Regions from separate parts of the Homo sapiens genome. Here all the other regions are linked to region 6. The links are contacts of gene promoters, found by promoter capture Hi-C in blood cells and fetal thymus (Javierre and others, 2016). All regions are on one chromosome and are shown on one strand. Each heading gives the region's core, a stretch centred on a gene start or on the middle of the fragment in contact. The rest is flanking DNA. Distances are from core to core; before and after follow the strand shown.

Evidence for each region. Contacts are between HindIII fragments. The CHiCAGO score rates a contact against its expected background, and 5 or more counts as called.
Region 1: a fragment that was not itself captured here is called in contact with the fragment with the promoter of ADAMTS3 in region 6 in 1 of 17 cell types (endothelial precursors); the score reaches 5.4 in endothelial precursors.
Region 2: a contact is called between a fragment that was not itself captured here and the fragment with the promoter of ADAMTS3 in region 6, in 2 of 17 cell types (endothelial precursors and megakaryocytes). The highest score is 5.8, in endothelial precursors.
Region 3: a fragment that was not itself captured here is called in contact with the fragment with the promoter of ADAMTS3 in region 6 in 1 of 17 cell types (megakaryocytes); the score reaches 6.5 in megakaryocytes.
Region 4: a fragment that was not itself captured here is called in contact with the fragment with the promoter of ADAMTS3 in region 6 in 1 of 17 cell types (megakaryocytes); the score reaches 6.6 in megakaryocytes.
Region 5: a contact is called between a fragment that was not itself captured here and the fragment with the promoter of ADAMTS3 in region 6, in 1 of 17 cell types (erythroblasts). The highest score is 6.7, in erythroblasts.
Region 7: a fragment that was not itself captured here is called in contact with the fragment with the promoter of ADAMTS3 in region 6 in 1 of 17 cell types (erythroblasts); the score reaches 7.0 in erythroblasts.

Annotation. Positions count from the first base shown.
Region 1 is chr4:72,976,130-72,980,268 of GRCh38, reverse strand. All of the region lies in intron 1 of LOC105377273 (a long non-coding RNA gene), which reads right to left. It overlaps LOC107986286 (a long non-coding RNA gene), which reads left to right. Exons shown (of 3, transcript XR_001741718.1): 3 at 667-681. Among named protein-coding and RNA genes, the nearest start is that of COX18, 92 kb to the left of the region's middle. The HindIII fragment of the contact is 171 bases long and covers 1,980-2,150 here.
Region 2 is chr4:73,027,282-73,030,991 of GRCh38, reverse strand. No RefSeq gene overlaps it. Among named protein-coding and RNA genes, the nearest start is that of COX18, 41 kb to the left of the region's middle. RefSeq lists a silencer at 2,026-2,320. The HindIII fragment of the contact is 2,099 bases long and covers 386-2,484 here.
Region 3 is chr4:73,008,277-73,012,325 of GRCh38, reverse strand. No RefSeq gene overlaps it. Among named protein-coding and RNA genes, the nearest start is that of COX18, 59 kb to the left of the region's middle. RefSeq lists an enhancer at 1-758. The HindIII fragment of the contact is 4,210 bases long and covers 1-3,813 here.
Region 4 is chr4:72,941,934-72,945,604 of GRCh38, reverse strand. No RefSeq gene overlaps it. Among named protein-coding and RNA genes, the nearest start is that of COX18, 130 kb to the left of the region's middle. The HindIII fragment of the contact is 697 bases long and covers 1,726-2,422 here.
Region 5 is chr4:73,046,112-73,050,031 of GRCh38, reverse strand. No RefSeq gene overlaps it. Among named protein-coding and RNA genes, the nearest start is that of COX18, 22 kb to the left of the region's middle. The HindIII fragment of the contact is 623 bases long and covers 1,649-2,271 here.
Region 6 is chr4:72,567,737-72,571,623 of GRCh38, reverse strand. It overlaps ADAMTS3 (ADAM metallopeptidase with thrombospondin type 1 motif 3), which reads left to right and starts at 2,403. Exons shown (of 22, transcript NM_014243.3): 1 at 2,403-2,930. The coding sequence starts at 2,862. The HindIII fragment of the contact is 9,487 bases long and covers 1-3,887 here.
Region 7 is chr4:73,063,316-73,067,162 of GRCh38, reverse strand. It overlaps COX18 (cytochrome c oxidase assembly factor COX18), which reads left to right. Exons shown (of 6, transcript NM_001297732.2): 3 at 1,750-1,913; 4 at 2,261-2,385. Among named protein-coding and RNA genes, the nearest start is that of COX18, 4.5 kb to the left of the region's middle. The HindIII fragment of the contact is 3,339 bases long and covers 437-3,775 here.

The DNA.
Region 1 (4,139 bases), core at 816-3,315, 410 kb before region 6:
TACCTTCTTCACAAGGGAGCAGGAGGGAGAATGAACACAGAAGGAACTACCGAACACTTATAAAACCATCAGATCTTGTGAGAACTCACTATCATGAGAACAGCATGGGGGAAACTGCCCCCATGATCCAATTACTTCCACCTAGTCTCTCCCTTGACAAGAGGAGATTATGAGGATTATGGGGATTATAATTCAAGATGAGACTTGGGTGGGGACACAAAGCCTAACCATATCAACATGTGTTAACATTATATGAGAGTTATAACTTTATATGAGAGTCATGATCTTACTCTTAAAAAACTATCTCTTTACATAATCAGTGGGGAGGAGGAAGCTAAAATGTTTAATTTCCGATATGTAGGGTTGATTTTGCCCTAGTTTTATCTAACTTTAGTTCCTAAACAAGGAGACTGTAATTAGAGTAAAAAGTAAATAGTTATTTGATAAATTTTGGCAAATTCATTGTTGAAATTTCTCTCAGAAATTGAGAAAGTGAAACTCTAAAGTGGGTAACAAATATTTTTCAAAGTGAGCTAGTTTCATATTTGTTTAACAAATATGTCCGTTTGATAGATCATTACAGAAATTTCAGTGATAGATCACTGTGTTACTTTTATAGCACTTTTTCTTTTTTTTTTTGAGACAGAGTCTCGTTCTGTCGCCTAGGCTGGAGTGCAGTGGCGGGATCTTGGCTCACTGCAAGCTCCACCTCCTGGGTTCACACCATTCTCCTGCCTCAGCCTCCCAAGTAGCTGGGACTACAGGCGCCTGCCACCACGCCCAGCTAATTTTTTTTGTATTTTTAGTAGAGACAGGGTTTCACCATGTTAGCCAGGATGGTCTCGATCTCCTGACCTTGTGATCCACCTGCCTCCACCTCCCAAAGTGCTGGGATTACAGGTGTGAGCTACTGCACCCGGCCTCTTAAAATAGCACTTTTATAACAAAGTACCACAAACTGGGTTGCTTAAAACAATAGAAATTTATTGTTTCACAGTTCTAGAGTGTGAAAGTCTGAAATTGAGGTGTCAGCAGGGCTCCCTCTTGAGTCTGTAGGGGCGAATCCTTGCTTACCACTTTAGCTTCTGGCATTTGCTGGCAATCCTTGGTATTCCCTGGCTCGCACCACTCTTAATCTCTGCGTTTGTCATCACATGACTCTTGTGTGTCTTCACATCATTTTTCCTCAGTGAGTGTCTGTGTCCAAATGTCCCTCTTTTATAAGAGCACCAGTCATACTGGATGAGGGGCCCACCCTACTTCAGTATATCCTCATCTTAACCGGTTATACCTGCAACATCTCTATTTCCAAATAAGGTCACGTTCTGAGGTACTGGGGGTTAGAACTTCAACATATGAATTTGGGTAATGGTTAATACAATTCAACCATAACAAGGAGAAGCCAGAAATCTGGTGGAAAGAAATTACTAACTCATAGCCAGAGAATTGACCAAAAACCTTGATAATTTCACATGTTCTTCTCTGTTTTCTTTTGGGTTCTGAGTCAATACAAATTGAGGGTTCTACTGGGTCCCCAGGTACTCATCCCTGGTTGGAGAGCTATTTAGGAGGTAGGTCCATCAGAAGTGTAATTCTATTTCAAAGGTGACTTGGTGTGTGGAGCTCACCTGGGGTAAAGGCAGTGGTAATGTGTGGGTGAACAAAATGGCGAGGTAGACGAGTCCAGATACAAATTGAAAAGGACCTTTCTGCTCTGGATTCACTTCCCAACACATCACAGAAAGTAATTCCTACTGGACCTGGGTAAAGCGTCTTCTCTCCAAGTAGAATGTGACCCTCTCCTTCCAGAGTCACAGATTTATGAGTTTTCCTGTTGGTTTCTTTATTTTCGTCTCCCTAGTTGCCCAGAGGAAAATCAGGATAATTCTGAAAGTAGAACTTTCAACCCAAGCTCTTTTATTGCTCCTAGGTTTGTGGTTTTGAGTATTACTCATACATTTACACCCACAAAGTAAGCTTGAGCCGTTGAAGTGTGGTCATTAATTAATCAATTAACCTAAGTAAATCCTTCCCTGTTATGCATTTCTTGTCTCATCTTTCCAGGGAGTTTGAAACCAGGTTTCCAATCATTTCTGATGATGAAGGATCCTCTGGCTTAGGACTCGCAGTAGAAAAGTTCATGGAAAGCTTAGGGTGTTAACCTCTTTCCTGGTGGTGTTCCAGCTGGTTTTAAATCCGTCTGCTTACTTTGGCTTTCCCACATTACCTCTTTATGTGGCTGTTACAGGAACCTTCCTCTCAGTGTCCAATAAAACCCACCCCATCCCTTCTCAATCTTGCTACAAAAAGTTGGAAAAAACCGGATGGTGATCTTACTTTAATTGAAGGCCACAGGATAGACAGAGGCAATTAGGTACATGAACTTAGGAGTGGTCATTATTTTTCACACTGAACTGTTCCAGTGAGGAACAATCAGGAAAGAGTTCCTTGGAATCTCCCTTTACCTAATGAGCCCTCTGGAAGAAATTTGAGTCCCATGAGAATTTGAGGTTCACCTAGCAGTTTAAGAAAGGATTAGCAATTTATGTGTGCTAAGAGCCAATGGCAAAAGGAAAGTTGTTCTTGAGTTGTGGGTGGTCAAATGTCCATGGAGCTATGGAATTGTCTGAAGGCTGTATGTACAGCAATGAGGAAAAACACAAGGACATCTTCTTGGCAGACAGCTGTACTAGCCATCCAGGCAAGTGCTGAGCACTGATGAGGATGTTCAAATGTAGAGAGCAATACACTCAGAGCCCGGACATTGGGGTTCCTGTCTCTGTTCTTCCATTCGCCAGCTGGGGAATTGAGTGTAATCCCTTAGACTCTGAATCTCATTTGCTTTTTTAACGTTTCTTACCATGTGCTCTGGTTGAAGTAACTTTTCCACAGGTCTTTTCTGTTGCTTGAAGTCTCTTTTGACCAAAACTTTGTTAAAATACACATATATGTATTTGGGTATTATTAGTACTGTTATTGATATTGCTACTGGTATTGTGTAATGGTGGCAACTGTGGTGGGCACCTTAATTTGAGTGCTTTATATCTATTACTTTCCTTAATCCTCATAATGACTATATGAAGAGGTATTATCACTATTTACAGTTGGGAAACTAAACTTCAGGTAGGTTGTTAAAATATCCAAGTGGAAACAGATAGTTAAAAGGCACCTAGCCAGTGGGTAGGGCCAGTGAAAATGGGACACATAGGAATTTGAAGGATTGTAAAAGTGGGGTAAGTCTCTGAAGGGGTGTGCCAAAAGAGGCTCCCTTTTTTTTTTTTTTCTGAGATGGAGTCTCACTCTGTCACCCAGGCTGGAGTGCAGTGGCCCTATTTGTGCTCACTCCAACCTCCACCTCTGGGTTCCAGTGACTCTCCTGCCCCAGCCTCCCGAGTAGCTGGGACTACAGGCATATACCACCATGCGCAGCTAACTTTTGTATTTTTAGTACAGATGAGGTTTCACCATGTTGGCCAGGATGGTACTGATCTCTTGATCTCATGATCTGCCCACCTCGGCCTCCCAAAGTGCTGGGATTGCAGGGGTGAGCCACCGCACCCAGCCGAGGGGCTCCCTTTTTAAGGGAAGTGGCAGAGGGGTACAGAGGAGACTGCTGAGCATTTCCAAAAAAGCCCCCCCACCAAAAAACGTTAAAAAGTACAGAAAAGGAAGATGCTAGAAATAAGATTTTATTTATTGTTTAAGTTGTTTTTACCACTTTCTTCATAATTATCAAAATAACACATGCACATTAAAGAAAAATCAGGCTGTATAGAAAAATGTAAGGAACTGAAAAATATATATATAGACTTTCTACCATAATTACTTTATTATTGCATATTACCTCCTAGTTTTGGTCTGTTTAGTGATTTAATTTTTCTAAACTTGCAATCCGGTTCATAAATTATAAACATTTTTACATGTTGTTAAATGGTCTTTATCATTATCATTTTACAGGGTGACATAATTCACCATATGTATAGTAAGTCATTTCCCCATGGTTGAACATTGAGAGGCATGCACTTTTGTGGATAATTTGAACTTGATTCTTCATAAATGGTACTTTAATGCATTAAATTTAGGGGGGTGGAATATGGTTTCTAGAAACAACCATCTTGATTTTCATAGACATATAAATT
Region 2 (3,710 bases), core at 186-2,685, 460 kb before region 6:
ATAAATGTGGCTAACTCTTGATAACTTCTGTTGACATAAACTTCTGTTGATAACTTCCTGAGTTGAAACTCTCTTTCATGTATTTTATAATAAATGAATTTGTGTTTAAGAAAACACTATGTACATACTTTAATTTAAAAAATACTTCGTTGCTCAAAATGCTAACAATTATCTGACCCTTTACCTTTAGTGAGTTGTAATCTTTTTGTTGGTAGAGGGTCTTGCATTGATGTTGATGGCTGCTGATTCGTCAGGGTGGCAGCTGCTTAAGGTTAGGGTAGCTGTGGCAATTTCTTCATCGTCTGCAATCATCTACACTTACTTCTACTAAAGTTTGAACATTTCAAAGCCACCCGTGAGGATTAGAATCAACTTCTTTCAAGCTTCTATTAGTGGTCTTTTGATTTCCTCCGTTGAATCACAAATGTTCTTAATGACATTGAGAATGGTGAATCCTTTCCAGAAGGGTTTCAATGTATTTTGCCCAGATCCATCAGAGGAATCACTAACCATGGCAGTAATTTCAACTTTAAGTCATGTTTAAGAAATATATTTTTCAAGGAAAAATTACTCCTTGAAATTATTTCTTGATCCATGGGCTACAAAATGGATACTATGTTAGCAGGCTTGAAAACAACATTAATTTCCTGGTATATCTCCATCAGAGCTCTTGGACGACCAAGTGCATTGTCAATGAGCAGTAAAATTTGAAGGAAATATTTTTTTCTAAGAAGTAGGTCTCAATAGTGGGCTTAAAATATTCAGTAAAGTATGCTGTAAAGAGATATGCTGGCATCCATGCTTTGTTGTTTCATTTACAGAGCACAGGCAGAATGGATTTAGCATCATTCTTAAGGGCTTAGGATTTTCAGAATGGTACATGAACATTGGCTTCAACTGAAAGTCACCAGCTGCATTAGTCCATAATATGAGTCAGCCTGTCCTTTGAAACTTTGAAGCCAGGCATTGACTTCTCCTCTCTAGCTATCAAAATCCTAAATGGCACATTCTTCCACTACAAGACTGTTTTGTCCACATTGAAAATCTTTTTTTCGGTATAGTCACTTTCATCAGTTATCGTAGCTAGATCTTCTGAAGAACTTGCTGTAGTTTCTACACGAGCACTTGCTGCTTCACCTTGCACTATTATGTTATGGAGACAACTTCTTTCCTTAAACCTCATGTATCAACCTCTGCTGGCCTCCGAGTTTTCTTTTGTAATTTGCTTACCTCTCTCAGCCTTCACAGAATTGAAGACGATTGGAGTCTTGCTTTGGTTTAGGCATTAGCTTAAGAGAATGTTGTGTTTGGTTTAATCTTCTATCTAAATCATGAAAACTTTATCCTTTTCAGCAATAAGGCTGTTTTGCTTTTGTATCCCTTGTGTCTTTAGTGAAGTAGCACTTTTCATGTCCTTCAATAACTTTTCGTTTGCATTCACAATTTGGCTAACTGTTTGGCACAAAAGGCCTAGCTTCTGGCCTACCTTGGCTTTTGACTTGCCTTACTCACTGAATGTAATCATTTCTAGTTTTTGATTTAAAGTGAGAGATGTGCAACTCTTTCTTTCATTTGAGCACTCACGAGTTCACTGTAGGGCTATTAATTGGCCTAATTTCAATATTGTTGTGTCTCAGAGAATAGGAAGGCCCAAGGAGGACAGAGATGGGGAACGGCTGGTCAGTGGAGGAGTTAGAATGCATACATTTATCTATTAAATTTACTGCCTTATATGGGCATGGTTCATGGTGCCCCTAAACAATTACAATAATAATATCAAGGACCACTGATCACTGTAACAGATATAATTATGAAAACATTTGAAATATTGTGAGAATTACCAAAATGTGACACAGAGACACCAAATGAGCACATGCCATCAGAAAATAGCACTAATACATTTGCTCAAAGGAGCATTGCCAAAAACCTTCAAGTTGTAAAAAATACAATATAGCAAAGTGCAATAAAGCAAAGCACTATAAAATGAGGGTTGCCTGTATATGGGGAAACGAAAGAAAGATAAGAGTTATTTTATGAAGGTCCTTTTGTACAAAATTCTCTCTGCCTCGACTCCCTGTGCCTGGTGATAAGGATATTTCTTTTCTTCTGGTATAAGGAGGGCATCTTTCACGTGGGCGTTTTGTCTCATGCTTTTGAAAAGAAAAGAGGAAGTCAGAATCCATCTTCCTGCACCTCTGGCTTCCAAACGCCTTTAATGCAAAGTAATTCTTATGCTGAAGTGGTATATATTGGGGTGGCATATTCTGCCATCCCCCATTAGACAGAAAGAACACTTCAGGAGGTACTTGGAGAAAGAGTTTGTTTTTTCCTCTCTCCTTTTTTTTTCTTTTATTTTTCCTTTTTTTTTTTCTTTTCCTCACAATAAACAAAAGTTTTCTGTTAGGTCTTATAGGTGAGAGTGAGCCATGCTTCTCATATAGTGACAGGAAAATAATAGAGACTGTCCAACTTAACCTGCAAGCTTTTCCTTGGATTTTACTTATCTTTAATTCCCCTAGTCTGGGGAAAACAGCCTGGCTGCATCAACACTCATGGCTTGAGGTAGCAGGGATCTGACAGGTATAAATTTGAACTCTATTCTAAATCAGTCCCAGCTTCCTTGGGTCTTTTCCAGTACTCAGATGGGATTTCCTAACAGTTTGCCATTGCATGCCCTCTTACCCACACATCAGAAGTAGAAAAATGTGTCTCCCTGAAGAAAAGAGCCCTCAACTCTCTCAGGAGTTCCTGCCGCAGAACACGGGGCACTGGTGCAGCTGCAAAAACTGCAACTAGATAACTAGTTGTGGTTCAGGCATCATGACTTAAAGTTAACTCAGGGAAATAGTCCTGGCTGCTCTATCCTTGTAGCTAGCAATTTTTTTTTTATTATACTTTAAGTTCCAGGGTACATGTGCACAACGTGCAGGTTTGTTACATATGTATACATGTTCCATATTGGTGTGCTGCACCCATTAACTCGTCATTTACATTAGGTATATCTCCCAATGCTATCTCTCCTCCCCTCCCCCCACCCTATGACAGGCCCCGGTGTGTGATGTCCCCCTTCCTGTGTCCAAGTGTTCTCATTGTTCAGTTCCCACCTATGAGTGAGAACATGCAGTGTTTGGTTTTTTGTGCCACATTTTCTTAATCCAGTCTATCACTGATGGACATTTGGGTTGGTTCCAAGTCTTTGCTATTGTGAACAGTGCCACAATAAACATACATGTGCATGTGTCTTTATAGCAGCATGATTTATAATCCTTTGGGTATATACCCAGTAATGGGATGGCTGGGTCAAATGGTATTTCTAGTTCTAGGTCCTTGAGGAATCACCACACTGTCTTCCACAATGCTTGAACTAGTTTACAGTCCCACCAACAGTGTAAAAGTGTTCCTATTTCTCCACATCCTCTCCAGCACCTGTTGTTTCCTGGCTTTTTAATGATTGACATTAAAAAGTCAGATGTGAGATGGTATCTCATTATGGTTTTGATTTGCATTTCTCTGATGGCCAGTGATGAGCATTTTTTCATGTGTCTTTTGGCTGCATAAATGTCTTCTTTTGAGAAGTGTCTGTTCATATCTTTTGCCCACTTTTTGATGGGGTTGTTTGTTTTTCTCTTGTAAATTTGTTTGAGTTCATTGTAGATTCTGGATGTTAGCCCTTTGTCAGATGAGTAGATTGCAAAACTTTTTTCCCATTC
Region 3 (4,049 bases), core at 459-2,958, 440 kb before region 6:
TGAGCTCTCAGCAGAGGGGAGACCCTGGGATGGGCAGCTCCTTTCTGCATCTGGTCTCCCCATTGTCTCTTTCCTCAAGCCTGGCTGAGTCTGGGGTTTTTATGGGCCTCAGAGTGGAGGAAGTTGTGCTGATTGTTCCATGGGTGGCCATAGGTGGGCCCAGGGAAAAGCACCACAAGTTCCCCCTCTAGTCCAGGGGACTGGTGGCTGGGCCCCCAGGCTTCAGGCCCTCCCCAGCTTGAAGGTGGGGCTTCACCAGACTGGTCCCCTCCACCCAGAACCCTGTCTGCCTCCTCCCACAGCTCATGGAACCCAGGCTGTTTGTGCCAGGGCGTGCCTGCAGGCCAGCACCTGACTATCCTCAGCCCCTCCTCAACCTCCCTCCCTTACTTGTCAGCACCCCAAATCCGGAGGGGCCAAGAGGTGGCAGGAGGCTGGCATGTCAACATTGCTCTGAGTGTGTTCCCCCGCTGCCGTTGGGCTGTGACAGCACCTGGGCTCGGCCCTGATCTTGTTCCAAGATTGGAGCAGGAGCCAACAGCAGGGAGAAGCCAGGCAGCAGCAGCAGGCACCCTTGAGCCCACAGGAGACAGGGCTGCCTTTGTGGGCTCCCAAGAGTGCAAAGATACATGGATCCACAGCCTTGGCAGGGTGGCCACAGCTGCACCCAGGGAGTTCTTGCCCTGCCAACTCAGAAGGGGTGGGACTCCCATTTGTCCCTGGCTCCCACTGGCTTTGTGGAGCATGCAGCCCTGCCCACACCTCCTTGCAGTTTGGGGCAGGGGCTCCAGGTTCTCCCTGCACCCTGGCCATCATCTGGGGCAGGGGAGACATTGCTGTGAGTTCTTCCCATGGCCAGGTGCTCAGGGGTGGCCCAGGGCTCTCCCTCCCTTGGCTCCTGGCCCTGCCTGGGGAGAGACTCCAGGAGTGGATTGTGGGCCCCAGTCTTGGCCATCAGGAGGGTCAGGCTCTGCAGTCACTGTGATGTGGGGCAGACCCTAGGCATGTGGCCCTGGGCTACCCCACATACAGCATCCTCCCTAGGTGCAGGAACCTGGCACTGTTGTTGGGGTGGGCATGGTGGCTGGTCTGCTGGCCAGGTCCTTGAAGTGGGTGTGGCGCCCATTTCCTGGCCTGACCCCTGAAGCATGGCCCCAGCTCTGTGCCCTGGGCCAGCTGCCATGTTCCTTGTGCAGGTGCAGTACCACCACGGGTCCAGCTTTGTCTCGAGGCCCCTCTCTGCCCACCACTTTGTGCCTGACCATGCTGCTCCCTAGCTGGTAGGTGACTTGACCTCACCCCACTGCAGCAGCCCCCAGGGTGGTGGGCTCCTGGGAGCTTCCAGGGGAGGGCTCAGGGGACTGTTCACTTCTCTCCATGCCCTACCTGCAATGGCAATGGGCGAGAGTGGTGATGTGGGGCCAGGGTCTGGAGCAGCAGTGAATCTGGGCCTGGGGCCAGGTCATGCCTGGCTGTGTGAGATTGGGGGTGGCACAGTCAGCTGCCTCAGGGATATGGGGCACAGGGTATATAAGGCACAGGGGACCCACTGCTACCACTGCTGCTCCTGTCACAATGGCTGCTCCAGATGGCTTGCCACGGCCATCAGTAGTAAACGAAAAGTAATCTGCAAGAATATTTCATTGTTATCAGAAGCAGAGAAATGGACACGCATGGTGAATCTGGCCCAGGCTGCTCCTTGGTTATAGAGATCCCATGGAAATTGTGAACAAATGCTACCACTGATATTAATACCATGATGATCATGACTGCCATTAACTGAGCACCTAGCATGGTAATAGAGACTAGTAAACATTTTGTCTATGATGTTTCATTTATATTTCACAAGTACTCTATGAAGTAGACATCATTTATCCTGTTTTATGAACCAAAGCCCCATTTTTAAAGATAATAAAGCTGGGTAAGTTAGAGCGTGCTGAGAGTTGTGTTTGCAAATAGATTGTAGGACTACTCAGATGTTCTTAGCCCTGGCGATGGGTGGGATGGGCTTGGGGCTGTTGGATTCCCAAGCCAGTTACCTTTGACCAAGTGCTACTTTGACCCAGTGTGTTGTACAAATATTATAACTGTCTATGCCTAACAAGATGTGAAAATTGGCAGGCGCATTAAATTACTCATCTAAGGTGACAGTGCTCATATACAGCCCAATTAGGGATCTAAATCAAGGTCTGTGTAACACTAGAGGCCATTTCTTTTCACTATACTTCACTGTCTTTGAAGATCTGAGGAGTGATGTTTCAGAAACGTCATGTCCTTCATATGAAAGCAGAAAAAACAGCAGGAGGTGTTTAATTATGCAATATGGGTTTCACACAGAAGATGCAGATTCAAACACTTTAGTACCACTAGGGCTGGTACGTGATGTAGACTAGTGTGGGATTAAGATTGAGGGCTCTGTTGCATGTAGCTGGACTTCCTGGATTTAGAACCAGATTCCATCACTTACTAGCTGTTTGGCTTTGGGCAAATTACTCTGTTTTTTGTGCTTCAGGTTTCTATTTTGTGAAATGAAGATTAATTTGTTTGTTGATTTGACAAATATTTATTGAAGGTCTTCTATGTGTCAGGCACTGTTTTAGGATCTGCAAATGCAGCAGTGAACAATGTACCTGCTTTCTGAGTTTATCCAACTTGGAATTCATTGGGCTTCTTGGATGTGTAGATGAATGTTTTTTAAAAACGAAATTTGAGAAGTTATTGGTCATTATTTCTTAACAATTTTTTTACACCTTTCTCTTTCTTCTTTCCTTTTGGGACTCTGATTATGTGTATTCAGGTATCCTGATTGTTTCCTACAGGTGTCCAGCTCTGTTCATTTTCTTCATTAGTTTTTCTTTCTGTTTCTTTCCCTGGGTATTCTCAATTGACCTATCTTTTCTGTTTTCTGATCTTATCTTTTCTGTTTTCTGATCTGAATCTTATGCCAGTTCTGCTATGAAGAAGTGCTAGTGAGGAATGTTGAGATGAGCACTACTTTAGCTAGAGTGCATATGGAATGCCTCTTTGAGGAGACGACATTTGAATTGTTACCTTAATGAGACAACTTGTATATATCCAAGAAAAAGAACAGAAGTGTGAAGATGACCAATTTTACACAAGGAACAGAAAAAAGAACAGGGAGGGATATGAGAACAGAGAGGGGGACAGAACACCTAGAGTCAGGAGGCCCTGACAAGTAGTTTCGGACTTTTTTTTTTATTGCAAAGGAAAGACAATGAAGGGTTTTTAGTATGACATGTTGGGATCTGATTTAGACTTGAAAAAAATCAATTGATTTGTTTTTTGGAGAGTAGATTTTTGATCATCAGGGAGTAAGATTTGAGGCAGGGAGACTACCAATGAGAATATTATAAAATACTCCAGACCAGATATGATGGTGGCTTGGGTTGGCTGCATAGGGAGGAGATGGTGTGGAGCAGCTGGGTTTGGAATATAGTTTGGAAGTAAGGTTGATAGGATGTACTGATTGATTGGATGTGAGGTGTGGAGTAAAAAAAAGATGATTCCTAGGATTTAAGTGTAATCAATTGAATGAATTTCAGTGCCATTTACTGGGATGGGGTAGGCTTTGGGTATGAGCAGTGCAGAAAAATTTGAGAGAGATGTGAGAATAAATTGTACTTTGTAAGTGAATGTGAAAAAATGTTAAATGAATGTTTTATTTTTTTCTGTGATACTTTTTGAGGCTTAGCCCATTTTCTGCAGAATAGTCAGCTGCCTCTCTTGTTAGCTCATTGTGCTTTCTACAGGAATGCCTAAATATAGTACTGTTTGAGCTTTGATGAATAAGCTTGGTTTTTTTTTAATTACATTTTTTTCTCAGAGGTTGTGTTTATTTATTTATTTATTTATTCATTTACTGGTACAAGGTTGCAACCAAAGAACACTTTTAAAGCCCTATTGTTGAGAAAGGATGAGATTTTCTCTTTGATTGAGATTTAGATACTTAATACTTCCCTTTGTCATGGCAAAATATCTATTTGTTGAAGATGGTGGGCTATTCTCAGACTGAACTGCAAACTGTGCTC
Region 4 (3,671 bases), core at 825-3,324, 370 kb before region 6:
TTAAATAAAATAAGGGTTACTTGAACACAAGCACTGTGATACTACAGCAGTCGATCTGATTGATCATCAAGATGGCTACTGTGAGTAACCAGTAAGTAGAGTAGACAGTATACTGGACAAATGGGTGATTCATGTCCAGATTCAACCCAGGCAGGTTGGAGAGGGATGGCATGGGATTTCATCATGATACGCAGGATGGCATGCAATTTGAAACTTATGAATTGTTTGTTTTTGGAAATTTCCATTTAATATTTTCAGACTACAGTTGGCCACAAGTAACTGAAGCCATGGAATTCAAAACTGCAAATAAGGGGAGGACTACTCTACAGTGTTTTATAGTTGAACTAGCATTGCTTTCTCTATGGAACATTTTCTTCCCTCCTGATTCTCCAAGTTTTGTTAAGACAAAGACTGTGTCTTATTTATTTGTGTCTCTCTGGAACCTCACACAGGTTTTGGAATGACATTAAATGCTCAAGAAACATTTGTTAAATTGAGCTAACTAAGTTGATTTCTCACTATTTTTATGTTGTTATTTCCAGTTTTTGCTTAAGTTGCTATTGTGGAATCTTAGGATTACTATTATTCACATCTTTTTTAAGGCCCAGAAAGAAGTAACTAAGCAGCAGTGACATGAATAGTAACATCACATATTTTTATGAATCAACACACAAAAGAAGAATTAGAGGCAAATTTTAGAATTAAATATATAACTTTGGTCTCTGTATTAAATTTAAGGCTACAAAAACCCTGATATCCTTTCAGTGTCTACCCGAAGAAGACAAATGTTAATTTCCAGTGAGTTCAACCCAGTTTAAATTCCCCAGAATTTTTTCCCTAAACTTTCCCCTAAAGTCAATCAAAAACTCCCCTGTGCCTACTCTGCATCAGTGTTCTGCTTCAACATTGGCATTTGCTTATTTCTAACACTGACCTCGGCACAGGGAGCTAGAATTAGAGATCGGAAGTTCCAAACTGATGATCTGCACCCAAATATGCCCCATGTAGTTGGTTCTATCTGGTATCTTAAACATTAGTGTTTCTATTTGGGGTTCCCTATGACCACACTTAGGTTTAATGATTAGGTAGAGGACTCACAGAATAGAGAAAAGCTATTTTATTCATGATTATGGCTTATTACAGCAAAAGGATACAGATTAGAATCAACAATGGAAAAAGTTCATAGGGTAAAGTTCAGGGAACATCAGGCACAAGCTTCTTCTACTTGTCCTCTGCCAACAACAAAGTATGATAACATACAGGGAATATTGCTAACCAGGGCAGCTCACCTGATTTTTGACATGCAGTGTTTTTGTTGGTTGATCACAAAACTATGGGTGACTGGCTGTGTGCCTGACATTTGTCGCCAGCTCTTCTAGAGCTCAAGCAGATACCACATGGTCCAAAGCCCCAACACTAATTACATTTTAGTATAGACTGTCTGGTGTGGTCCAAGACCCTTATGTAAACAAAATACTCTTGTTGAACAAAATATTCCAAGGCTTTAGAGATTACATTCCAGGAACCAGGCAACCTTTCATTGGAATGGGTAGGATGTGGACAACCCAGACCTGCTGAGTTAATCCTTTCCTGCAGCAGTATTAATAGTAAACCTGCAACGTTTAGGAGATTTCCTATTTAATATGTATTTTGGAATTCTCTAGAAAAATGGGAAGATCTGACCCATGCTTCAACCTGGCTGCTATTGACAGGAACTGGGAAGCTTTTCTTGTTTTAGATAAGGTATGTGCTTTCCAATCCACCAGGATTACATCCAGTTAATTTCACTCAATTACATGATGTTCCCATTTCTTATAAGCATTAGAGTATAGATGATTTGGAAACTAAGAGATATTGAAAATTCAGGCTCAAATTTAAAAAATCATCCTTCACCTGATGAATTTGTCATCTGTCTCCTCAAGTTGTTTTTCTGTGCTTCTCTGTTCACCATTCTTTTGCCTTATCCGTGGGATAAATTATTATTCTGGGAATATTGTCATCCAAAGGAGGCAGAAGAACCAGAAAATTCCTCTGGAGCCGTAGTTTTCAAAATTTTTTAGTCCAAGAACTACTGCAGCAGTTAACTATATGCCATCTATTTTTCCCAAGCTCACTCATCCCTTACTCCTTCTAAGCTGCCCTCAGCAGAATTAAAAGAATAAATATAATTTCTCTTTTAATAAGATATTATTCAGTACCATATAGAAACTTAGCTTGGGACTAGGACATAAACTTTGAGATTACATATGACCAGTCTTAAATCACCTATAGCACTTTTTGTTGGAACTTTTTGTTCTAAGTTACTCTCCTATGACCTGGCTACTTGGTCATAATGAAAGTAGTTCTTAAACCAAAAATGCCATACATTCAGATATTTTGGCAAATAGAGACACAGCTGTTTATATACTTTGTTAGGTAAGCTTGATGAAGTCCCAGTCTTCTGTCTTTTTAGATGCTTTGGCCACTTCATTACAAGAATGATTTTTTTTTTTTTTGAGGAACCATATATATCAATACAGAAGTAAGAACAAGGCAACTGAAATTCCTCCTAATCCAAGAGCTCAAAGGAGGACTTTTAAGGATCAAGCCTGATCATTACCTATAAGGGTGCAGGACAGAAGCTTCCAAGATTCGTAGACTCTGTTCAAGTATGTTTAGGAAAAATCATGAAAATATTTTAGCTAATTCATGTCCTGAATACCTCGAGCCTATTTCTGAAATCTATCTTGCTAAATAACAAACCAGTGAAGTTGCTAATAAAAGCCATTTCTGATACTTCCTGTGCTGGTTAGTGAAGTCTGAGCTGTTGACGGAAGAGATAAGGCTAATCAAAATGCCTGCAGTGCCCCCCTCGGAGTGTGACCTTTCTGAAATAATACCTGCTAACTATCCTTGGAGTAAGTATCCTTACTCCTTTATAGAGTAATTTCTTACATTAGAGTGGAAACTTAAACTCACTGGCGTATTAATTTAAATACTACATTGTCTTTGCTGAACTATTTTAGAGCAAATTACATGTATCATAATACCTTTTTAGATGTCTACTGATAATGATTTATAGATTACCCCTTGAGAAAGAGAATAGTTATCATATGCTCTGTTCCCAGTCCCAAGCAGGAGCAGCACTTAAAATGTCCTCGCATATAGGTACCTTCCATATTCTTAAATCTTGTGGTCATTGTGGAGGAAGGAGAGACCTTATCAGTGAGTTTATGGTTTTTATATTTTAACTCTTTTGCTAATACTCATTTTGAGAAAAAAATGCCATTTTTCCTTACTTAAAAAGTAATGATTAATAAAAGAATATGACTTATATTACATAGAACACATGGCTGTAATGCAAGAAATCATAATGAAAAACTGGCATCCAGAATATAGGGGTAAAATAATTCTTGGCTTGCAGTAGCATATCTGTTGTTGATGTTTGTTCTTCATAAAAATGAATAAAAAACATTATAAAACTCAGAAATAATGTGTTAATCTTAGTGCAATAATATGAAAGCAAGATCTCTTTCTTGAGTCATTATCAAGAACTATAAGTTTCATTTATAGCTATGTACTTAAACTCATTAAGAAGCCAATTTTATTACTGAAAGTCTTGCAGGAAAACTAAATTTATTGTTGAGTTTGCAACTCTCTTGCCCCCAATCTCTTTTTCCTCCACTGAAACA
Region 5 (3,920 bases), core at 711-3,210, 480 kb before region 6:
CCTCGTCTCTACTAAAAATACAAAAATTAGCCAGGCATGGTGGCACGTGCCTATAATCCCAGCTACTTGGGAGGCTGAGGTAGGAGAATTGCTTGAATCCGAGTGGCAGAGGTTGCATTGAGCCAAAATCATGCCACTGCACTCCAGCCTGGGCAAAAGAGTGAGACAATGTCTCAGAGAAAAAAAAAAAAAAACACTACGTATAAAAGCATTTTGATCCTGGTTGATATACATCCATAGGAACCACAAGGTTGGCAGGGTGCAGTGGCTCACTGCCTGTAATCCCAGCACTTTGGGAGGCTGAGGTGGGTGGATTACTTGAGGTCAGGAGTTCGAGACCAGCCTGGCCAAAATGGTGAAACACCATCTCTACTAAAAATACAAAAATAAGCCAGGTGTGGTGGCACATGCCTGTAATTCCAGCTACTCAGGAAGCTGATGTAGGAGAATCAATTGAACCTGGGAGGCAGAGATTGCAGTGAACCAGGTAACTCCAACTGCATTGCATTCCAGCCTGGACAACAGGAGTGAGACCCTGTCTTAAAAAAAAAGAACCACAAGGTCTGGCTGATAGCACAAGAAAAGGAAAAACAAATAGCAGGCAAGGAACAGCTAGAAAATTTTCAAGTTTTGTTAATCAACTATATTAAAACTAAGGAAGCACTTTCCTAACAGGCCTTGCCTACTTCTCACAACACTAAATTTTTGGAGGGCTGTAACTTGAACTTGAGGGAGACAAAACTTTACCCAAAGCGTGAGTAACAGAGGGACCATGTTTCCTTGTGTTCTACAACTGACTACCTTCTTTATTGACCGGTGTTTAGGTAAGTGTTGCAAGGTAGCCTTACTTTCAATTGCCTAGTCCTATACTGCTGGTTTTGTTTTATAAAATAAGGACTTTTTTTGTGTTTTAGAACAAACGCATCAATGGAAAGACCTGAAATAAAAATCAGTGCTTCAAGAAAGCAACCTCAACCATTCCTATTGAATTATTCTAAGGCAACAAAAGATAAATTTCTATCCTTTGTTTGTTTGTTTGTTTGTTTTTTGGAACACAGATTTTCACTTGGTCACCCAGGCTGGAGTGCTATGGTGCAGTTTTAGCTCACTGCAACTTTGAATTCCTGGGCTAAAGCAATCCTCCTGTCTCAGCCTCCTGAGTACCTGAGACTACAGGTGCATGCCACCATTCCCAGCTAATTTCTAAAATTTTTTGTAGAGATGGAGTCTTGCTACATTGTCCAGGCTGGTTTTGAACTCCTGTTCTGGCCCCAACACCTGGCCCAAATTTCTATCCTTGAAGATCTCTGCTAGAATTTCATTAGAAAGAGGCCACTTTGGAAAATGACCAATTTCTCTTTTCCATTTTGAGATTTCACAGGCATGCTTCCCTCTCTTTGTACCTCTGATGAGGCAATTCTTAATACATTTGTTTTGCCTTAACTGGGAATTGGGAAGGCAGTATTGTATTTAATTTAGCTTTGATTTTTGTCTTTTGGGAAAATTATAGCTCTGCAGGACAACATAAAAATGGAATATGAAATATACCTTACTATATTCATTTGATAGCATTTGTGTTTTTGTATATCTGCATGTTCCAACTGTTGCACAATTAATAATTTGAAGAATTTTTTTCTAATTATAAGCTTCTGTGAAAGGGCCACATGCACAAAGCAGCCCCCAAATGCAGAAGGACCCAAGGAACCAAAGAACAAGGCAGACAAAACCAGTTTGCAGTAAAGGATGATTTACTGGGGAACTTAGAGATGGAAGCATGGTCTTGGGCAGCAGCAAGACAGGTAGGCCTCTGCATCAATACTCCCCAGACCCAGGGCTTTTATACCATAAGGAAAGGGTGTACATGCTGTATAGAGACAGTTAAAGGCAAACCTCCAGAAGAGGCAAGACTGCTATGTGGTCATAGCCTATAATTTGTGTGATAACATCAAGGTTGCTTGGATCTAATGGCCGGCATGTTCTTACACTAAGGACAGTAAATAAAATAGGACTCAGGAGGCGTCTTTAGGACTGGGGTTAATTAGAAGTCAACATGGCAGATTAGCATCCAATATAGAGTCACTTTTATTGCCACAAACCTCAAGTTTCCTGGATTTTCAGTGAATGATGGATGCCTCTGAGGGTGGACATACTAAAAATATAAAATCTGTACCTATAGGGAGAATTTGCAGCTTCTTCTATGCTATTTAAAATTTATTTCGTGGGCTGCTAAAAGTAAGAAATTTTCTTCTTGTAAAGTTTATTATAGAAGCTTCAGTTATGCTTATCAATATTGTTTTTGAGTACAGATGTTAAATGTTCTGTTTTGTGGTCCAAACAAAAACAAGTTCCCATTTAAAATTAAACTCGCAACAAAATACAATCTTAAAATGAAATATCTTCTTCCTCATCTTTATTTCTAATCCCCTCCCCAACAGAGAGAAAGACTTACAGATGAATTATTGGAACTTATACTCTATATCTATGTGATAATGTGTTATTTTACTTAAAATGCAGTCAATCCTCATTATTTACATATTATAGGAGTGAGTTATAATGCTGTTGGCTGTGAGTTCCATGTTAATGAATTAATACATAGCTTTGTTCTTTGTGTGTTTCTATTTGAAGACGTTAATATATACATATATGCACATTTATATGTATAGTATCTATGTATGTTTATTTTATATACAGGCATACCTTATATTGCACTTTGCTTTCGTGTGTTTCACAGATATTGTGCTTTTTACACATTAAGGGATTGTGCCAACCCTGCTTCAAGCAAGTCTATCAGCCCCATTTTTTCCAGTATCATGTGCTCACTTTGTGTCTCTGTGTCACATTTTGGCAACTCTTGCAATATTTCACACTTTTTCATTATTATATCTGTTATGGTGATCTGTGATCAGAGATCTTAGTGTTTATTTTTTTATTTTTTAAAATAAACTATATATGTATATATATTTTTTGTAGCGATGGGGTCTCCCTATATTACCTGGACTGGTCTCCAAGTTGTGGCCTCAAGTGATCCTGCCACCTCAGCATCCTAAAGTGCTGGGAATACAGGTGTGGGCTACCATGTCTAGCTCGATCAGTGATCTTTGATATTACTATGATCATTGTTTTGTGGTGTCATGAAACATACCCCTATAAGACTAGTGAACTTAATCCATAAACGTCGTGTATGTTCTCACTGCCCCAGTACCGGCCATTCCCCCATCCCTTTCCCTCTCCTTGGGCCTCCTTATTCACTGAGACATAACAATGTTTAAATTAGGCCAATTAATAACCTTACAGTGGACTCTTAAGTGTTTAAGTGAAAGGAAGACCGACATATCTCATTTTAAATCGGAAGGCATGTCAAAACCCAAGATGAACTGAAAGCTAGACCTCTTGTGCCAAACAGCCACATTGTGAATGCAAAGGAAAGGTTCTTGAAGGACATTAAAAGTGCTACTCCAGTGAATGCACAAATGACAGGAAAGCAAAACAGCTGGATTGCTGACATGGAGAAAGTTTTAATGCTCTGGATAGAAGTTTAAACCAGCCACAACATTCCCTTAAACTAAAGCTTAATCTAGAGCAAGGCCCAACTCTCTTCAATTCTGTGAAGGCTGAGAGAGGTGAGAAAGCTGCAGAAGAAAACTTGGAAGCCAGCCGAGGTAGGTACATGAGGTTTAAGGAAAGAAGTCTCCATAACATAATAGTGCAAGTGCAGCAGCAAGTGCTAATGTAGAAACTGCAGCAAGTTCTCCAGAGTATCTACCTAAGATGACAGATGAAAGTGACTACACTGAACAAAAGATTTTCAATGTAGATAAAACAGCCTTCTAGTGGAAGAACGTGCCATCTAGGATTTTGATAGCCAGAGAGGAGAAGTCAATGCCTGGCTTCAAAGCGTCCAAGGACAGGCTGACTCATAC
Region 6 (3,887 bases), core at 1,154-3,653:
CATGTAAGTAAGGAGACCAAATTGCACTACATCTCCCCCTTGAAGACTCACAATTTTTTTTTTTTTTTTTTTTTCAGACGGAGTCTCGCTTTATCGCCCAGGCTGGAGTACAGTGACACAATCTCGTCTCACTGCAACCTCCGCCTCCTGGGGTCAAGCGATTCTTCTGCCTCAGCCTCTGGAGTAGCTGGGACTACAAATGTGTTTGTTTAAATAGGTACCCTGAAGTCTGAAATAAGGAGAGCCATTTTGTTTCATTTATCTAAGTATTTCATGAGCTCAGTTGGCTGTCTGAGAATTTTCCTTTTCCTGGTAAAACATTTAATATTCCAGGGAATACTTTGGGAAACTCTGCCTTAGAATATATTAGGAGAACCCTATTAATTAGAACTCATTTAGAATTAAAAAAAAACCCTATTGCATGCTCTTAAACTGATCTTTGTCAAAGTGAGAGTCATGACTTGCTGGGTTGTGAAATCAATTGAGTGCTCATCTGCAATTGGGGTTGCAGGGAAAGAATGGCAAGAAAAATATCAGGGTTGTTGCATGCAGTACAGGTAAGTACTGAATCATGAAATTTTTACTGGGTCGCTATGCAATATGCATTTCTCTCTGTGGTGATGGCCAAAAATGTCTGAAGCCGCTGCTTTCCTGAAAGTCACATGAATTGCTTGCTATGCCGGGAGTTAGGTGATAACTAATGTCTGAATGTTGTAAAATTAACACAAAAGGGCCTACTGTAATAACATGGTTAAATACATTATTTGTTATTACCTAAAATCAGATGATTTTAGATCTCAAATATCTCATAGAGGAGAAACCAAAATAGAGGTTTATTCTGACTTGTCAAGGTAAGACAGCTGTTAGCTGGGTCTAGAACCTAGATCTCCTAATGTGTATCTCTAGTGTTCTTTTACTTGTCAGTGTAAATTGACAGATTTTTCATTTATGGAATGCTTAGGGTTACTTCTTTTTAATGAATAGACAAACTCGGTGTAAAATGTAGCAAATCACTCCTGGATAGCTAGTTAATGACAAGTTACAAAAATGCTACAGGCTTTAATTGAAGGAAAAAAGTAATTTAGAGATACTTCAGTGCTGGGGTCTAATTCTAATTCCAATTAATAACTAATTGACCTAATATCCTGTTTTACTAGGTGGGGCCATTTAGTTACCTAGTTTCTCATTTGTATATGTAAATGTCCTCGATATATGATTTTGAGAAGACTTAGCAGATAAAACATCAGTGAACACCAAATCTTTCCATGCTTAAGTTAAAGGCACAACCATCACGTTACCTCTCCAGGAATAAACAATGAATCGAAGTTATAGGAAACCCTCCAAACTCACATTGCTTTTAAAAAAGAACAAGAACTATGACTTATCTTGCATCTCATAACAAGATAAACACTAGCTCGTTTTATTGTGGGCAGGCCTCTTCAAGACTGTCCAGTTGAAGTCTTGAAGTTCGTATCTAAATTTGTGTCTACTCACTCCTGGCTCGTGGACCGGTCAGTGGAGGTTGGAGCTATTTCCTTTTCCTCCTGTCTGCTTTCTGGAAAGCACCCACAGGTGTCTACGCCTGGGAGGTGGGCCTGGGCTAGGATTCCAGCAAACTCTCAGGTTGGTGTCATTTCCCCTCAGGAAGCGCCAGGCCACAGCGGGCAGAAATCATTTGATAACTTAATCTGGGTGTGAGGAAGAGTCGCTGAGGCCTGTGTACTCTAGTGATAAACGGAAGCATCCGGGTGAGTCAAGGAAAGGACGTGGTATCTTTTAAAACTAATATAAACGAATAAAGCCTAAACAAGAGCTTACAAAGAAGGACACCCCCTGCCAAAACGTGGGAGGTGACTGGTGCCTGGAAGGGAGATCACCGCGTGGTTAAGATCTGGAGGTTCCAGGGCTTCTCTTCGGGGAGAATTCTCTGGCTGGGAGAACAGTGGAGGTTGGAGGAGGTGAATTTCCTACAGCCCAGGACCAGCCCTCGGACCCTCCCCCTTCCTATAATTAACTCAACGCGCGTCCCGCCAGTCGGGACCGGTGGCGCCCCTGGACCCTCCCCTCCTCTCGCCCTAGGCGGAGAAGGAGAGGCTCCAGGGTGGGAGGTCGAGCCCGGGCCACACCAGCCCCCGAGCGGTCTCCAATCCTGACACGGTGCGGGGGGCGCGGGTTCGGGCCCCGCATGACGTGGGCGCCACGGCGGGAGGGGCAGTCCGGGGAGCTCCGGACGCCTTATTAGCGCCCCGCGGGTCGCCAGCAGCCAGCAGACTGCCGCGCTGCGAGCAACAGGAGCCGGCGAGCGGCCCACTCCTCCCACCTCCTCCGCCTGCCTTCTCCTCCTCCCCTTCGCTCCTCCCGCCCCCACCTCTGCGTGTGCGGCGGAGTCGCCCTCTCCCTGCCTCTTTCTCCCGCTCCCGCTCGCTCGTCTCTCTCGCTAATACTTCCCCCTGCTGTGCTCCGGGGAACCCAAGCATTCTCCGCGCTAACCTTAGGGACCAATGGTGCTCGAAAAGCCTCGAAAAAGCTGCTTTGGGCAGAGATAGTTGGAAAGCCCCTCGTCCCTTCCCCCTCTCCCAGGCTTAGCCTGTGCCCGCTTACAGCACCTTCTCGCTCCTGCACACTCTGTGTTGGGAGGACGGGGTGAGAAGGTGAAGTGGAAAAAACTGCAGAGCAGAGGGGGCCAGTCTCAGAGCTCAAATTTCATTTTCATTGAAGCAAAGCACAGAAGATCATTTTTTTCTATTTCGCATTTTTTCCCTTTTCCTTTTTTTCTTAAAGAAACTTATTTTGGGCGGGGGGGGTGGGTTTGCTCTGGGCATTTGCTTTGCCCAGTAGTTGGAAAGTGAACTCGACTCGTGATGGTTCTCCTGTCACTTTGGTTGATAGCAGCCGCTCTGGTAGAGGTTAGGACTTCAGCTGATGGACAAGTAAGTGGAAAATAATAACAATAAAAAAAAACTCAAACCCAACCTTTTCCCGAAAAGTTCCTCCCCTCTCTACCCTCCTCTCTTTCCTCCTTCTCCTCCCACCCTTCCCTGTTATCTTTTGCGTTCAGAAACGGTGTTTTGAGGGCTGGGCGCAGCGTGCGGGCTTTTGGGGGTAGAGGGTTGAGTTGCACGGGAGGTTACGACTCCCACTCCGGGAGCCCAGTCTTGTCACACCTAGGGCTTCACCAGTCTGCGACATTCGTAACAATTCCTAGTGACAAACCGCAGCCAGTTCCCATCCTCGCCGGGCCATCTGGGCTTCCCCTTTCTGGAGGGCGGTCTGGGCGCTTGAATGAAGTTCTGGACGCTGGGTCCGGGATCCCAGCGCTCTGGCTGCTGCCGCCAGAGTCGGGTTCCTGGAGCTTTCTCTCCTCCGAACTGACTCACGGTTTTTTCGGGCAGCCGGAGGCGGGGGTTTCAGGAAGTCCTTGGGCCGGACAGGGAGAGATCCAGTAGACACGTGTCCTGGGAGTACCACGGCCGGGCTAGGATTTGACAGTTGGGGAGGGGGGCTGGAGACGTTTCCTGCCCTCCGTTTTCCTGGGCAGAGGCTGCAGGCGCCGGCCGCCTTCTCCCCTCCCCCTCTGCACAACTCCTCCTCTTTTTAAAGCTAAGTTGAGTGCAGCTCTGTTTCTTTTCGGCCCTGCCCCCAACCCTTTGGAGGCTCAAGGTGAAGCCCGATGCTCTCAGAAGAGTCCTTGAGAAGGCTCCGCCAGGGGAGCTGTTTGTAGTAAATCATATCAGCACTGGGCCGATGGGACTTTGGGTACAGAATTTCTCTGTTAGTTTTTGTAGCTTCTCCGGTCGGCCTGGTCTGAACGACCATAGGGTAAAAAGTAGAGAATTGTCTAGTTGATTCCTGACCTTAAATCTGATTAATCAGGCCCCCTGTTAGGT
Region 7 (3,847 bases), core at 857-3,356, 500 kb before region 6:
TCTATCCTTTGTGGTTATTCTGTGCAGTTGTCTGCCTGGGTTCTTGGAAAGTCCCAATCTAAGGGTGCTTGATTGCGCCCAAGGATGTCTGCATTCATTCACTGGGAACTTACAAGCCCTCTTGCTTCAATCAACTCCTCAATCAGTTTCCCAAACTCTAATCCTTACTAGACTGCGAAAAATTATTCTCCTTTTTACAGCAATGGAAAAAGGCCTTTGTGGTATCAATCTGTGTTATGTGTATATTATTAACCATATATTTTTATATAGTTGTACATTTCCCAACTATCTTTAATACGAGATTGTGTCCTATATTTAGTGTTAAAAAGATCTGACATTTTAAAAAATCGTGGTGATAGCTTAATGTCTTTATTTGGTAAAAATTAAAAGTTGACCTATAGGTTTGAAATTTTACTTATCAAAGAAGTCGAAAGCTTCAGCCATAGGCCAAAAGAACCAGATTAATAGCTGCTTGCCTGGGTTATCAACGCAGCCTAGATAAGACTTGTGGCACCTTGCTTAAGCAGTACTGGCAGGATGGTTGTGCAGATACAGCCTTACAGATGTTTCTTTCTAGGAGGAAACATCTGAGGGCTTCTGGCATTTTCTTTTCTTTTCTTTTCTTTTTTGTTTTTTTGAACAAGACAGAATCTCCCTGTGTTGTGCAGGCTGATCTCAAACTCCTGGCCTCAAGCAATCCTCCCACTTTGGCCTCCCAAGTAGCTGGAATTACAAGTGCAAGCCACAGTGTTGGCCAGCTTCCTGCATTTTCAATAGTATTGAGTCTTGAAGGGTAAAAGACGGTGTGTCAGATGGACAGCCAGGAAAGTGGGCTTTCCACACAGATGATATAATACAGTACTTCCAAAGGCATGCCTATGCGGAAGTCTGATTTGTTGGATGAACTAAAGTCATTCAGACCAGAATATGCAGGTGTCTAGAGGAGTAACGAGATAAAATTGGAAGAATAGGCAAATGTGAAATTATGGAGGACCTAGAATGTCTTTGTGTACTGTCTTATTATACACTATAATTTGACTAAATTCAGAAAAACTATTGAATGCCTCCTCTGTACAAAATATATGATACAGGAGATTTAAAGATGAATAAAATAGAACACTGTCCCCTAAACTAAGAATACTTTAGTTTTTGTTTTTTAACTCCTATTCTCTTGGACCTGAAGGAAGACTGTATTCTAAAAAGTAAAATTTCAGGAAAAAACAGTAGTAACTAATATGGTTAACAGAGAAACAGATTAAAAATATCTTTGTGAGATAGTTGATTGAAAAATGGAGACTATTTTGACAGGCCAAGAGCATACACAGTATAAAACCACATAGCTCCAAAAGGTATATTCAGGGATGAAGTGGTTAAGTTTGGCGGGAGTGGAGAGATTTGATTAAAGTTTGCTTTTAGCTTCCATATTTCCAATATTAATTGTAGTTATACCATGTCAGTAGTGAAATTTACCTTTAAAGCCTAATCAGCCAAAGACCACCAGAGACAAAGCCTGTAGTCTGACAATTTCAGATTGTTATGTAACTTGTGTACCATACTGTAGAAGTTTTGATAAAAGGCTTTATTTGCCTGTTGTTTAGGCAACTCCTTAACATGCCTGTGACAGCTGAAACCCTTATACAAATCCTTTAGCTAATAACTACAGCAGGCGCTATTTGTGCTATGGAAATAAAGCACGATTCTTAGATGACATTTTCTCTTTCCCCTTTTTTCCCCCTAACCTCAATCTAGGCTCACTTATCTAAAGAATATGAGGAGGCTAATTTCAGAGCTATATGTGCGAGATAACTGCCACCCTTTCAAAGCCACTGTGTTGGTTTGGATTCAGCTTCCAATGTGGATCTTCATGTCTTTTGCTCTCCGGAATTTAAGCACGGGGGCAGCACATTCAGAAGGTAATTATTGTATGTCTTCTCCCAAAGAAGTTCTCTAACATTGTCTTTGTACTAAAAAAAAAAAAAAAAAAAAAAAAGCATACTTTTCATAATTACGATATGTTTACTATCTTCCTTATAAGGGTATAGAATTTAAAGTCTTAAGTGTAAACAGATTGGTTGTGTTGTGAACATTTTGTATTGAGAAAAAATATATATATTGTGCGTGAAAAACTGGAATAAATCCAGTGCAGATCTTTCCTGTGAGGGACACCTTATTGGAATTGTCAGACTACTTATTTATGTCTTATATATTTTTCTCTGCTATTTTTAGGACTTCTATTGTTTTATTTATAAAACTGTTTTAGCAGGTTTTTCTGTTCAGGAACAGTTAGCTACTGGTGGAATTCTGTGGTTTCCTGACCTCACTGCACCCGACTCCACTTGGATTCTGCCTATCTCTGTTGGCGTCATCAATTTGTTAATAGTGGAGGTCAGTAGTTTTAAATGAAATTTGTTTGCCATTTATGGGGATTTTTGTTGCTGCTGTTTTGACTTCAAATCTGTTTTTGTTTGAGTTGGTGAAGATAGCTCTGAGTTAGAAGTGAGATCCCTTGGTTCCTGGTTCCACGTCAGGCATTGGCTTAGGCCTGTCCCTTAACCTCTCTGGGCCTCAGAACTCTCGAAATTAAAGTAAAAGCACTAGTATACTTCCAAGTCTCTTTCAGCTTCAAAATTATATGATTCTGATACATAGAATTTTGTGACTTGCTTTTGGCAAAAACAGTAATAAAGATGCCCAGTCAATCTGGTTGTATTCTTAAAATAGAGTGATGTTCCGTGTGTGTGTTTAATATGTGAATTTGTAGGCGGAGAACACAAGTCAGGCCCTGACTGCTATTTTCTTGCTTTATGACCTTAGAAAAGTCATTGAATGTCTTTATAAGATGAAATGGGAAAAACATACACATAGAAAATGTGACCTCTCAGTCATGTCTTTTTTTTTCTTTTTTTTTTGAGATGGAGTTTTGCTCTTGTTGCCCAGGCCGGAGTGTAATGGCGCAGTCTTGGCTCACTGCAACCTCTGCCTCCTGAGTAGCTGGGATTATAGGCGCACACCACCACACCCGGCTAATTTTTGTATTTTTAGTAGAGACAGGGTTTCACCATGTTTGCCAGGCTGGTCTCGAACTCCTGACCTCAGGTGATCCACCCGCCTTGGCCTTCCAAAGTGCTGGGATTACAGGCATGAGCCACTGTGCCCAGCCCTCTCAGTCATGTCTTAACCCTTATCACAGGCTGCTTTACTCAGCAGTTTAGGGAAAGCGTGCATATAATTTCATAAATTGTTCTCAGACTCTGAGTAGAACAGACTGGACTGGAAGAAATCTTAAAAATGATTTACCTCAGTAGAGATCTCCCAGACCTCATGACCTCTGATGCCTGTTTGTGAAATCTAATATACCCCTTATTCTTTCAGATGAGGAAAATGGAGATGATAGAATATAAGGTCTTAAGTGAAAGTTTCTTGAGGAAAGACTCTACCTGTAGTCCAAATATGTTTCCCTAAGAGCACTAGCACAGTCCCCTGTGGTTGGTGTTCAGTGAATATTTGGTAGAAAGAAGGAAGTGATAAGCACAAGGTTACAGTGAATCAATGTCAATCCCCTAGTCTTTTCCTCTATGTCATCTAAAGACTAATAAAGGTGTTTTCATAGCGGGGCATGGTGGCGTGCGCCTCTAGTTCCAGCTACTTGGAAGCTGAGTCAGGAGGATTGTTTGAGCCCAAGAGATGGAGGCTGCAGTGAGTTGTGATCCCACCACTGTACTCTAGCCTGGGCGACAGAGAGAAAGACCTCACCTCTAAAAGAAAAATAAAAGCTTATTAAAAGCTTATTCTTACTCAACATACACTATGTGCAAGGCATTGTGTTTTTTGTTTGTTTGTTTGTTTG